Linked DNA regions of Homo sapiens: regions 2, 3, 4 and 5 are each linked to region 1. Evidence: promoter capture Hi-C in human tissues and cell types (Jung and others, 2019). All regions are on one chromosome and are shown on one strand. Each heading gives the region's core, a stretch centred on a gene start or on the middle of the fragment in contact. The rest is flanking DNA. Distances are from core to core; before and after follow the strand shown. Region 1 holds the start of RPL26L1 (ribosomal protein L26 like 1). Region 2 holds the start of STC2 (stanniocalcin 2). Region 3 has its middle 29 kb from the start of NKX2-5. Region 4 overlaps NEURL1B (neuralized E3 ubiquitin protein ligase 1B). Region 5 has its middle 15 kb from the start of NKX2-5.

Region 1 (2,587 bases), core at 38-2,537:
ACCTGTAATCCCAGATACTGGGGAGGCTGAGGCAGGAGAATCGCTTGAACTTGGGAGGCGGAGGTTGCGGTGAGCCGAGATGGTGCCACTGCACTGCAGCCCAGGGAACAAGAGCGAAACTCTATCTCAAAAAAAAAAAAAAAAAAAATCTAGTATTAGTAAACGCAGGTGTTTAACAATGTCACCACTACATGTCAGGGAACACTGATAAACTAAGAGAGAGCACGGGACCTGCCTGGGTGTGGCTGCTGTACTTGCAAGACATCTTCCCTCTCTGAGTTTCAGCATGCCGGCATTTGGCACTAAGTTGTCGTTCAACATATATGGAATGAATGAACGAAAGGGAGAGTTGGAGTTAATAACACCTTGCATAGAATAAACCCCGTCGGTTCTTAACCCGAAGAGAGTCGAGACCCAGAGCCCTTTTCCTTCCCTGCCGCCACGGTGCCCACGGAGGGGGCGTGGTTGATCTCCCTCACAGCTCCGTCGGGACCAGAGACCCGGGGACCTTTTACACCCAGGGTCCGCGCAAAGTGTCGGCCTAGCCAGTGGTTGGGTGGCGCCCGGGCCTCCAGGCAGTCTTCCAGGGGTCGGCGAACGAAACGCGGAGCTCGGGAGCGACCCGGCGGGGCCAGGCACGGGCAGAAGGGCCAAGAGGGCCACAGGTGGGCGCGGAGCGGCCGGAGTGGGCGGGGACTGGATGAGAGGGGCGGGGTCTAGGAGAGAGGGGCGGGGCGGCGGCCACAAACCCGCAGGCACGCCGCCGGCCGCCGTTTAGTCCCAGAGATAGAAAAAAGTAGAGGTAGGAGGGCGCGGCGGCTCACGCCTGTAATCCCAGCACTTTGGAAGGCCGAGGCGGGCGGATCACGAGGTCAGGAAATCGAGACCATCCTGGCTAACAGGGTGAAACCCCGTCTCTACTAAAAATACAAAAAATTAGCCGGGCGTGGTGGGGGGCGCCTGTAGTCCCAGCTACTCGGGAGGCTGAGGCAGGAGAATGGCGTGAACCCGGGAGGCGGAGCTTGCAGTGAGCCGAGCTCGCGCCACTGCACTCCAGTCTGGGCGACAGAGCGAGACTCCGTCTCAAAAAAAAAAAAAAGAACACCAGTAAGCCTCTACCGCAGGCCCTACACAAGCAGGCCCTTGTACTCACTGGCATCGCCCTCCCGGGGCCGCCAGGAATGAGGCACTGAGATCCCACCCCAAGCCGCTGGGGGCGCCATTCGACTTCGCTCCTACGGAAATGGGGCTTCGATGTCTTTCTGCGCTTGCGCGGCACGGAAACTCACTTCCGGCCCTGCGCACTCAGGGTCTGAGGCAGCTAGTAGCCGGGTGAGTGGAGGCTGGAGTTTTCTCGGACAGTGAACTCTACCGCCCCGTGAGACCCTGCCCTATGTGTCGCGGGAACACATGTCACCCCACAGCTCTCTTTGAGTGACCTCCCGACCACCCATTCCTGCCTAACCCTAGCATTCCTTCCTCAGCCTCAAGGTCCCAGTGCTACCCTCTCCCCCACGACCCCTTTAGACGGGCATGCGACCTCCACACACGCCTCACTTTATGTGATAGTCAGACTAGTCGCATCTCTCTGTCCTCCCTCAGTTGCCTTTTCAGAGGCTACCTCCCCTGTAGAGCCTTTGTTGGGGGATGAGGAGTGTCTTGGGTCGAGAACAGGCCCCTGTAACCCACTGAGCGCCCCTTCATTCCGTCTCTCTCCGCCCTTTGTAGAGGGTCACCATGAAGTTCAATCCCTTCGTTACCTCGGACCGCAGTAAAAACCGCAAACGTCACTTCAATGCCCCCTCACACGTGCGCAGGAAGATCATGTCATCCCCGCTCTCCAAGGAGCTGCGGCAGAAGTACAATGTCCGCTCCATGCCCATCCGCAAGGACGACGAGGTCCAGGTACGTCTCCCTCCGGCGCTAGTGGCGCTCGGACACCGTTGCCTAAGAACGTCATGCGTGGAGCAGTCACAGACTCACATGCCTCAGGACTCTGGAAAGTAGTGTGACCCTTCAGATGTGTTAGGCCAGAGATAGGGTTCAGAGCCACCAGAGAGTGCCTGCGTTGCTTTAGAGCATTTAATTATTTAATAGTAATAGTAAAATTTAATAAAACAGTATGTCAACCAAGCAAAAACCTGCTTTTTTGTTTGTTTTGTAGAGATAGGGTCTTGCTATGTTGCCCAGGCTGGTCTCTGAACTCCTGGCCTCAAGTGATCCTCCCACCTCAGCCTCCCAAAGCACTGGGATTACAAGTGTGAGCCACCGTGCCCCACCAAAAATACTTTTGATTTAACCTTCTGGCTGCTAGTTTGCCAAGTGTTGTTGCCCAGGGTGGCTTGTTGAACCAGACTGTAGGGGAAGGTGCTGCAGTGAGAGTAGTGTTTTAGTGTATTTGGGTGTAGTGGGATTGATGGACAGAGATTTGTGGGAGCTGGCCATGTGATAGCATTGGATTTGGCAGGAGAACTGGTAAAGATGCAGCGAGTCACTCTTTCATAATTTCTAAAAGACTGGCCCATGTGAGAACGTACAAGCCCTCTGTTCTCTGTGATTGGAGCTTAGAATGCATGAGAGGAGGGAA
Region 2 (2,587 bases), core at 56-2,555, 370 kb after region 1:
CGTAAGACCCCACGCGCCGCCGGGGCAGGACCGCACAGGGCCGCCATTCACTCACTTGGGGCGTCCCTAATGGGCACTCGTGCATTCCAGCTCGTGCGGTGAGCGCACGCACGCCGCCGCTGCCGCGTTCACACGGCCCCCCAAAGTCGGGGGAGGGGTCGTGGAGCGAAGGAGCTGTAGGCAGATTTTCTTTCTCTTTCCGAGCTGGGAAAAGGGCCAGCCCCGTGCCCTGCACGCCTGGCTCTGCTTTGCAGCTTGCCGGTGAGCCAAGAGCCGGTAGAGCAGAGGAGGCGCACGGTTCGGGTCGTGTCACCATTTCTTGGCTTGCTGACCTGGCCAGGAGCTGGGGATGGCGGCAGCACCGCGGAGGTACGCTTTGCGCTGCCCTCACGCTCCCTTCCGAAAGCAGTGCCCCCAGGGGGAAAGTTCGCAATGCCATTTGTCTCGCCGGCAAAGTTCTGGGATGTCGGGCATCTTTTGAGGAGGGGGAAGACGCGGCACCCTTACTGAGGCCGGCAGGCCAGGAAGAGAAGTTCTCCGGGCGCAGGGCGCAGCCCAGCTCCGGGGACCCTCTGGGCCTCCCGCGTGCCGGCCGGGATGAAGCGCGCTTTGCACCGGACCCGGGATTCGGGGGCGGGGGCTGGCGCTGGCAGCGTCAGACGCTGCTTCATTTCCCCTCGACCCTGGGGAGGACAGCAACAAGTCCTGCCCCAGCCATTTCATCACCCTGCTAGCACGTGCAGATTCCGGGCCCTCGGAGCCCGGCGCGGACCTCGCCTTGCCTCGCGCTTCCCTTTGCACGTCCCGTGCCATCCCAAGAGTTTGCGTGGCCCTGGGTGGGCGCCTGGCTCCCGGCGAAACGCCTGGGGCGCGCCGCGTGGGTGCACGGTGTCCTCTCCCAGTAGCTCCCGGCTGCGGGGGCACATGCACTTACCTGTATTCTGCAGGGACAGGCGGCCTTTCTGCTGGGAGCTCCTGTCTTGGGGACCCTCGGGTGGGTTGGTGGCGTCGGTCCCCCGCGCCGGGTCAAAGGTGGCCAACACCAAAGCCAGGGTCATGAACTGGCCCAGCCGCTCGGCACACATGGTTCTTGGTATTAACCTCCCGTCGGGAGACCTGGATCCTTTGTGCTCCCCTCTTCCTCCTCCTCCTCTTCCTCCTTCGCCGCTTCCCCTCCTCCTCCCACTCTTCCTTTTTGCTCGCCTTTTCCCTCCTCCTCGCGGCCGCGGCTCGGATAGAGGTTACCCAGCGCCCTCCCGTAGCTCTCCGGAGAGCATGTGACCAGGCCGTTAGCAGCGCCGCGAGTGCCCGGCAATGGCAGGGATGGTGCCTCAAATATCCCTGGAAGCTCTGGTGTCACTTGAATGAAGGAGTCGAGCAGGTGTTGTCCCGGCGGCTGGACCAATCCGAGACCCCGGCCCTTTTGACAACACGGCCGGGAGGCGGGGCCTGCGCTCAACTACTACAGGAGGAAGCCGAGCGCCGCTGGGAGCGCCGGACAAAGTTGCCGACCTGGCGGCGGCCACGCGTTTGCGTGCGTGTGTATGAGTGTGTGTGAGCGCGGCCGGAGATGCGTGCGCGTGTGCGGGTGCTCCAGGGCAATGGTCGAAAGGACTGTACAATATAAGAGCGAATCCAAGCTCCAGTTGCTGTTAAAGGGGGACGGTGTGCTCTGGGACAGTGTCCCTGGGGCCCCTGGCTCGCGTCACACCCACATCGGGTTGGGAAAGTTTCCTCTTTCCGCCGTTTGGAATTCAGTGAGATTCCCAGCCCAGAGGACTTGATAAATTGAAGCAGTTTCCTAGGCACAATGATGCTGTGGGCCAACTGAGCACACATGGGAATTCCTGGCCTTGTGACACTTTGCATTAAAAAGAACCCCACGATTGAAGATAGGAGCAGAAGCACTAGATACAGTATTTGGTCTGAGCAACTGCCCTATCTTCCCGCTTTGGTGGGCCGTGCAACACCTGGAGTGTCGTTTCTCGTCTTTCCCCTAATCCAGACGCATTCCAGGCTGGGCTGCAGGGATCCAGGTGACAGTCAGGACTTGCATCATTTCCAGGAGGGTGGCAGGGAGGCCCAAGGCAGCCCTGAGTCAGCCCGCCGCGGAGCATCGCGTGCCCGGAGGCCAGAGCTTGAAAGGCAACTTTACGCGTCTCCAAACACACTCCTGCATTTTCTCAAAGCGCTGCTCGCCACCCCGCTCCGGGTTCCCTTTTACTCTCCAGTCATCCGATGGAAGTGGTGAGAACAAAAACAAAGACAAAAAAGCTAAATCCGGGGAAGTTATCTCCATCTCCTCCCTTTTCTTGTTCGGCCCCCTCCCCAAGAACCGCCGGGTCGGGATAGCCCCCGGCTACTTTCTCACCCGGCCCGTGGAGGGAAGGAGAAAGTTGGGCGCCGCTTGGAGCGCCTCTTCCCCTGCTGTGTGTGTACGTGTGCACGCTCACGTCTCCCCCGCGCCGGGGCCGGGGACAGGAACTGCTCTCGGTCCCGTCACCCCACGGCGCAGCTCGGGGGGCTCGCAGGGCTGGGGGAGGGCGGGGACACGAGCGCCGCGCCCAAGCGCCCCAGGGCACGCACC
Region 3 (2,587 bases), core at 45-2,544, 300 kb after region 1:
GGGTCTGTGTCACCCAGGCTGGAGTGTATTGGTGCAATCATGGCTCACTGCAGCCTGGACCTCCTGGGTTCAAGTGATCCTCCTACCTCAGTCTCCCAAGTAGGTGGGACTAAGTGCCACCATGCCCAGCTAATTTCCATTTCTGTACTTCCTCTCTCAGCATTGCTATTTTGTTCCATCTACTGGAGTGTGAGAAAAAATTCAGTTCCACTCTGGCCACCTGTGGTAGCCAGCTTCCAAGACGGACCTTGGTGATTCTCAATTCCTGATATTCTGGAAGGATAGGAGGCCACATGGAGAACTGAAGCTCCTACTCCCCTCCAACAGTGAGTAGGACTGACCTGGTAACCAATAGTGTATTGTAGAAATGACTGTGTATGAACTCTGACTAGTGTTGGCCTCAAACTCCTGGGCTCAAGCAATCCTCTTGCCTCCCAAAGTGCTGGGATTATGGGTATGAGCCACCATGCCCAGCCTCTTTATTATTAGTTGATTTTTCTATATTTAATTTTTCTTTCTTTAAAAAATACTGCTTTGTATTCTTTGTGTCTTATTTATTTGCTTATTATTTTTTACTGTGTTTTGGACATTGCATTTGAAAAATTGCTTGCAGAACTAATTATAGGCTTCAGATGATGATATTTTCCTCCTAAGAAGATTTATGTTTGTCTCTGCTAGGCTCCTGGGGCACCGACAATTTAGGTTTACTGAAATCTAATTTCGGGGGTTTAGAATACCTGAAGTGGAGCCATGGTCTCTGCAAGGGCCTGTCTGCTTCTGGGTCACATTTACTTGTAGGGAGCTTCCCTTTAGAATCCCAGTTCAAGATGAATCTCAACTCTAATCTTGGTAAGCTTCACATTCGTCCCTGCCCCTTTAGCCCCGTGAGGCTCTTGAAAGTCCACCCAGCCTCTCTGCCAGCCATGGTAGAATTGGCCCACGCTGCCAGGCCCAGGGTAGCTCAAAGGACAGACTCACTTCGCACGGCTTCCTCCTTCCTTTGGGTCCTGGCTGGTTATTCTTCACTATTTTGTAGCTCTCTGGTGTCTTTAAGCAGTTCGGTTTTTTTTTTTATTTTGAATAATTATCAAATTTATTAAAAGCGTACAACAGATGCTTATAAACAGCAGCAAAATAAGCTGATAATCTTTTTCATTTCATCTGACCAATAAAATTCTCACAGTCTATACAGATTTTTCTTTCAGTTTATTTTACTTTTGTATGCTTTAGTGACAAATCCTTACACCTGAGACAAAGTGATCATCATTTAAGAATCACCATCATCATAAATTATTTTACATTTATTTTATTCTTTTACAGACAGGGTCTTGCTCTGTTGCCCTGCCTGGAGTGCACTGACTATTCAAAGGTGCCCTTCTAGTGCACTGCAGCCTTGAACTCCTAGGCTTAAGTGATCCTCGTGCCTCAGCCTCCCATGTAGCTGGGACTACAGGTGTGTGCCACCACTCCTGGCTTATTATTTTACATTTATTGAGATGAAGGGCAGGTTAATTTCATTATTTACTTTGAATCGATTAATAACCCTCAATTCTAAATGTGCTGGGCAAAGTAACAGAGAGGGCTTGACAATATCCCTCTTCATTATGTATTCCAAGACATTTCGTGATTTTTTTCCCATTTGTCTGATTTAGGATTTACTTATTCTGCAGCATTCCCAGTTGTCCTCAGTGGAATGGAGGGCAGTCTGAATTACGTACTTTGCTATTACTGATAATGGGAGTTCACCCTTCCAGATTTTATTAGTTCTAGTCTCAGCATGGTAACTAATTACTTCTACGACCTTGGGTTGAGGTTGGGCACGGTGGCTCACCCCTGTAATCCCAGCACTTTGGGAGGCCGAGGTGGGCGGGTCACTTGAGGTCAGGAGTTCGAGACCAGCCTGGCCAACATGGTAAAACCCTGTCTCTACTAAAAATACAAAAATTAGCCAGGTGTGGTGGCAGGCGCCTGTAATCCCAGCTACACGGGAGGCTGAGGCAGGGAGAACTGCTTGAACCCAGGAAACGGAGGTTGCAGTGAGCCAAGATGGCACCACTGCACTGCAGCCTGGGCGATAGAGCGAGATTCTGTCTCAAAAAAAAAAAAAAAAAAAAACTTTGGGTCACATGTGCTTTTCTTTCTTCATTTGTCAAATTAGATTGTTAACACTGGGCTTACCTGCCTCCTGGATTATTGCAGGAGCAAATGGGATAAGCTACATGGAAACCTGGAACCCAGTGTAAATGTGAGGTGCTAAAGCCCAGGTCCTACACCCTAGATTTCCCAAGGCATCTGAGCCCTGTGGGAAGGAGGGCCCTTGTTGACTCCCAGCCCCAGGGTGCAGGTGCCCAGAGCAATTTGCATCAGGTGGTCTCTTTTGTTGCTTTCTAAACATCAGGCAGGTTAATGGTACACCATTCTGCAAGTCAAATCTTGAATCTGGATGATCAGGTGAGTTTTTATCGTACTTTTTCTCATTTCTTTTCCCCCATAATTGCATTTCAGGAAGCGTCCCCGGGTTAGTTCTTTTTCTTTAGTTTTTGTGTCTAATAACTTTCCGTGAGCAGACCCCACAGTGTGCAGCAGT
Region 4 (2,587 bases), core at 46-2,545, 280 kb before region 1:
CCTCCCTCCCTCAGGGCAGGTCTTTCTTAAGTGCTGGTTATGCCACCCTCTCCTTTTCCCTCTTAAGCTGTGCCCTGAGGCGTGAGTCCCTGCCCATCACTGACCTTCAGCCTGTCAGACCCTGAGCCTACATCCTGGGCCCACTACCGGGCCCCTCGCTTTCAGCCCAGGTGACCTCTCCCGGCTGTGTGAATGTTGCTGCTTGTGGCTCCTGGGCCTTCCCGAGCTCCCGCCGTTCCTCCTGCTTTCCTGGCCACCCCTCGCCCTACCTGTCCTCCCTATGTTGAAAGCCCCATGGTTCTATCCTGGGCCCACTCTTTCCTTTTTACTTTCTTAAATTGTGTAATACAATATGCATATAGGAAGGCATCTAAGAACAACTGTAGCATTCAACAGATTGTCATAAAACAAGCCTGTGTCTGTCTGCCCTCTTTCTCCAAGTTATCTGAGCCCATCATTGGGCTTCACATCTAGACTGTTGACTCCCAAACCCATCTTCCCAGCCCTGACACCTCCCTTGAACCCCAGGCCTCCCACCACCTATCCAGCCTCTCCTCCTACATCTGAGGGGCATCCCACACTGAACATGCTCGGACACAACTCTTGAATCCCCCACCTCCTGCTCCTCAGCCAGCCCCATTGGCAATAAGTAGCACCACCCCCTTGGTTGGCCATTGGCAGTAAGTGACACCACCCCCTTGGTTGGCCATTGGCAGTAAGTGACACCACCCCCTTGGTTGGCCATTGGCAGTAAGTGACACCACCCCCTTGGTTGGCCATTGGCAGTAAGTGACACCACCCCCTTGGTTGGCCAGTAACCCGGTGTCATTCTCGATTCCTCTTTTCCTTGCCTTGGATCCATTCTGTCAGTGAGTCCTGTCATTTCTGCCTCTAGTACATGGCCCGAGTCAGTCCCACAGAGTGGTGATTGATGGATATGTTTCTCTGTCCCCAGTTGTCCCTGCCTTCATTTTCGTGTCTACACCAAGATGGTTTCATTTGAGACATACATTTTGCTTTACTTCCAGCCCAGATATATTGGACCTAAGAGAGAAAGGGGAGGGGAAAAAGGGAAGAGCTAGGCCCTGGAAGTGGCTTGGGAGAGTGGGAGGTCAGGGGCCTGTCCCAGCCTCCTCGTACCTGACTGGGGACTGCTGCAGTGTGTTGGTACTCAGTGGCTATTCATGGCAGGGAGGCGGGGACATTAGGCCCGTGGAGACTGAAACTCCAACTTTGGCCGGAGGCCAAGTCCCGGTGCTGGGCTGCTCTCAGAGCTGAACGACAACAGCAGCATTGGGAGGCAGTATTGCTAGCCAGGGGCCTTGCTCTGGAGTCAAAGCCTGGGCTGGAATCCTGTCTGTCACCCCCAGGCTATGTGACCTTCAGTAACTCACTCCACCTCTCAGCGCCTCAGTGTTCTCCCACTGTGAAATGTGCCCATTTTACAGAGCCACATAAGATAGTGGTGAGGACCAAAGGGGACCATCAGGGTATGGAGCTGCGTCTAGCAGGCGCTCGAGAACGTGGTTATGTGTGTACTTGTTTCAGCCACCGGTAGAAGCTGGGCAGTCTCGACACGCTCCCTCGGTGCCTCTTGATGTTGCTGGATTTCTGCCTATAGCCGACTGGTTCTCCTTAGAAGAAATGCCCCTTTGAGCAATGCATTCTGAAGTGTCTGGCCTAGGCTGGCGCTGTGCTGTCTTGGGCCTGTCTCAATCAGGGCCCATGCCCAAGAGGAACAAAGCTCCTTCCACAAAGAATAAGTGAGGCCATGCAACCTTTTCTGAGGGGCTGCCGTGTGCCAGGTACCCAGCACAATGTCACATTCATTATAACCCAGCCTTGTAGACACGCCAAGCTTCCAGCACCTCAGTGCCTTCACATGTGCTGTTCTCTGTGCCTGGAGAACCTGCCCGGCCACAGATCCCTTATCTCCAGGTCGCAGCCTGTTGATCAGTCAGGGAGGCCTTTTCTGGCCTTAGTCCCCCTTTATACACCCTCAGAGAATCCCAGCTCTGTCACTCCCCAGCTGTGTGACCTCTTGGAGCCTCAGAGTTCCCCCACTGACACTTCCCCACATAGGACAGAGGCTCTTGGTGGCACTTGGCCCAGTTTTCTGTAAGATGGCTTCGTAGAGCCTTTATCTCCCACTTGAAAGGGAATTCCATAAGCACAGGAGCCACGCCTGTGTGTTCACCTCTGTTCACCCAGCACACAGCAGCGCTGGGCCCACAGTGAGTGCTCTATACGTTTTTATGATCATAATTAATGTTTTGAGCACTTAGTGCCATGCTCTGTATTACTCTTCATGACAGTAATTTCCATAACATGGGGGTGTTTACCACTATCACTCTATCACTCTATGTTATGCTGAGGGAGCTGAGGCTCTGGGAGGTGAAATGGCATACCTGAGGTCACATAGCCAGTAAAAGCCAAAGCCAGGACTTGAATCTAAGTCCGCCTGTCTCCATAGGCCATGCTCTTAATAAGGATGCTGCACTGATGGGCTCCTGTGTGGAGCCGCTGGGGGACAAGAGGAGGAGAGTTGGCGGGGGGGAAGGAGCAGGGCAAGTAAGGCCAGCGCCTT
Region 5 (2,587 bases), core at 37-2,536, 260 kb after region 1:
TTAATAAAAAAATCATAATCTGTTACATAAATGTACTTGTAATTATACAAAATGACAATAAAGTTTTTCATCGCAGCATCGTTTGTAAGACAAAATGGAAATAGTTTTAACAGGAACTAGTTAAACAAATTATAGTACATCCATGCAGTGAAATAGTATGTAGGTATAATAAAAAGAATGAGACTTCCTTTAGAAACTAATATGGAACAATCTCCAGAAATAAAATTAAGTAAAAAAAGGCAAGATGCAAAAACAGTAAGATGAAAATCTACCACTTATGTAGAAAGGGTAAGAAAAGAAGTAGTTGTTTGCTTGTTTGTGCGTAAGGTATCTCTGGATACCTTGTCGCTGTATATCCTTTGATTTGTCACTGTATGTCCTTTGACATTTCCTTTGACGTTTTGTGAAAAATTTCAAAGCATATTTTTAACTGTTAGCTATACATACAGCATGAGGCATAAAACACACAGTCACAGTTTTACTTACTAAAAACACATATTCACGGTTTTACTTAGTAATAAAGTAACACCCATATAACAGCCAGCCAGGTCAAGAAATACAGCCTTGCTGGAAAAATCTACAATGATTCAAAACCTCCACCCTCTTTCTGGAAACTAACACACTTTAACTCCATTTAATTCCTCCTGACTTAGAAGTTATTGTTGTCTGGTATTTTAATTCTAGCTTTCTGCAACCCCTGCCTTTTTTTTTTTTTTTTTTTTTTTTTTTGAGACAGGATCTCACTCTGTCACCCAGGCTGGAGTGAACTGCTCACTGCAGCCTCTACCTCCCAGGCTCAGGTGATCCTCTCACCTCAGCCTCCCGAGTAGCTGGGAGTGCAGGTGCACGCCACCACATCCTACTAATTTTTGTATTTTTTGTAGAGACAGGGTTTTGCCATGTTGTCCAGGCTGGTGTCAAACTCCTTGAGCTCAAGGGATCCTCCTGCCTCGGCCTCCCAAAGTGTTGGGATTACAGGCATGAGCCACTGTGCCTGGCCAGCTTCCCCCTTTTTAAACCCTACACTTTATAGTCAGGATTTGCTTACATTTGCTTACTTATTTACATCTATCTTTGCTTCTCATTCATTCTTCATTTCAGAGCTCATGTAATGAGTGTATTATAATTTTGAAATGAATTAGTAACTAGTCACAAATTGATTAGTATTAATAATGCATATTAATAAACATTAATATTAATGTTTACAAAATTCTCACTTTTTAATTTCTAACATGATCAATCTCAAGAGATATAACCCACCTAAACAAAAGCTCTTTGGGGTTGTCAATAATTTTTTATTTTTATTTTTGAGACAGAGTCTTGCTCTGTCACCCAGGCTGGAGTGCAGTGGTGCAATCTCGGCTCATTGCAACTTCTGCCTCCTGGGTTCAAGTGATGCTCCTGCCTCAGCCTCCCGAGTAGCTGGGATTACAGGTGTGCACCACCACGCCTGGCTAATTTTTGTATTTTTAGTAGAGACAAGGGTTTGCCATGTTGCCCAGGCTGCTCTCGAATTCTTGACATCAGGTGATCCGCCGGCCTCAGCCTCCCAAAATGCTGGGATTACAGGTGTGAGCCACCATGCCTGGCCTATTATGATTTATTTATTTTTTTGAGACAGTCTCCCTCTATCACCCAGCTGGAGTGCAGTCATGCAATCTTGGCTCACTGAAACCTCCACCTCCAGCGTTCAAGCAATTATCCTGCCTCAGCCTCCTGAGTAGCTGAGATCACAGGTATGTGCCATCACACCCGGCTAATTTTTGTATTTTTATTAGAGACCAAGTTTTGCCATGTTGGTCAGGTGGGTCTTGAACCCCTGGCCTCAAGTGATCCTCCCACCTCGGCCTCCCAAAGTGCTGTGATTATAGGCATGAGCCACCACTCCAGGCCCTCAATAATTGTTAAAAAATATAAAAGCTTCCTGAGACCAAAATGTTTGAGAACCTTTGACCTAGTGAAATTTTACTATTTCACAAGCTGGAAGTGATTGTTTTCAGAAGACAATGGGTGGGTGGGCTTGGGGTGGGGAATTCCAGGTCATCTGAATCTACTGAAAACAAGGATGAACATTTGAGTAAATGATGAAAATGTGCTTATTTAATCTCATAAATTTGGTTATAAATGCGTTTCTGTACTAACTTTTGAAAGGGAGAAAAATGAATTATGAGTTGTTTAGGCACAAGGGTCATAATTTTTTCTGACAATGTTATATTGCTGCTCATTCCTGTACTCCCAGCACTTTGGGAGGCCGAGGCGGGCAGATCGCTTGGGCTCAGGAGTTCTAGACCAGCCTGGGCAACAAAGCGAGATCTCATCTCTACAAAAATTTAAAAATTAGCTGGTGTGGTGGTAAGCACCTGTAGTAGTAGCTACTCAGGAGGCTGACATAGGATTGCTTGTGCCCACGAGTTTGAAGCTGCAGTGAGCTATGATTGCACCACTGCATTCCAGCCTGGGTGGCAGCAAGACCTTGTTTAAAATGTTTATATATATGTGTGTGTGTGTGTGTGTGTGTGTGTACATATATATATATGTATGTATGCGTGCATGTATATATCTTAAGTGGAGCCTTCTGATTCTAAGT

The links. The method cuts DNA at HindIII sites, captures the fragments that hold promoters and counts their contacts. A contact is called where the count stands out against the background at its distance.
Region 2: a contact is called between the fragment with the promoter of STC2 here and the fragment with the promoter of RPL26L1 in region 1, in 1 of the 25 tissues and cell types used here (lymphoblastoid cells).
Region 3: a fragment that was not itself captured here is called in contact with the fragment with the promoter of RPL26L1 in region 1 in 1 of the 25 tissues and cell types used here (mesendoderm cells).
Region 4: a fragment that was not itself captured here is called in contact with the fragment with the promoter of RPL26L1 in region 1 in 1 of the 25 tissues and cell types used here (stomach).
Region 5: a fragment that was not itself captured here is called in contact with the fragment with the promoter of RPL26L1 in region 1 in 1 of the 25 tissues and cell types used here (lymphoblastoid cells).

The regions. Positions count from the first base shown.
Region 1 is chr5:172,958,137-172,960,723 of GRCh38, forward strand. RPL26L1 (ribosomal protein L26 like 1) reads left to right here and starts at 1,288. Exons shown (of 4, transcript NM_016093.4): 1 at 1,288-1,332; 2 at 1,729-1,905. The coding sequence starts at 1,738. RPL26L1-AS1 (RPL26L1 antisense RNA 1) reads right to left here and starts at 1,232. Exons shown (of 4, transcript NR_026682.1): 1 at 1,154-1,232; 2 at 3-121. The HindIII fragment of the contact is 17,043 bases long and covers 1-2,587 here.
Region 2 is chr5:173,327,109-173,329,695 of GRCh38, forward strand. It overlaps STC2 (stanniocalcin 2), which reads right to left and starts at 1,306. Exons shown (of 4, transcript NM_003714.3): 1 at 935-1,306. The coding sequence starts at 1,085. LOC124901137 (a long non-coding RNA gene) reads left to right here and starts at 1,491. Exons shown (of 2, transcript XR_007059056.1): 1 at 1,491-2,587. RefSeq lists a silencer at 2,500-2,587. The HindIII fragment of the contact is 8,569 bases long and covers 1-2,587 here.
Region 3 is chr5:173,262,840-173,265,426 of GRCh38, forward strand. No RefSeq gene overlaps it. Among named protein-coding and RNA genes, the nearest start is that of NKX2-5, 29 kb to the left of the region's middle. RefSeq lists an enhancer at 2,359-2,587. The HindIII fragment of the contact is 6,740 bases long and covers 1-2,587 here.
Region 4 is chr5:172,677,870-172,680,456 of GRCh38, forward strand. All of the region lies in intron 2 of NEURL1B (neuralized E3 ubiquitin protein ligase 1B), which reads left to right. Among named protein-coding and RNA genes, the nearest start is that of MIR5003, 17 kb to the left of the region's middle. RefSeq lists an enhancer at 1-293. The HindIII fragment of the contact is 3,003 bases long and covers 1-2,587 here.
Region 5 is chr5:173,219,249-173,221,835 of GRCh38, forward strand. No RefSeq gene overlaps it. Among named protein-coding and RNA genes, the nearest start is that of NKX2-5, 15 kb to the right of the region's middle. The HindIII fragment of the contact is 5,980 bases long and covers 1-2,587 here.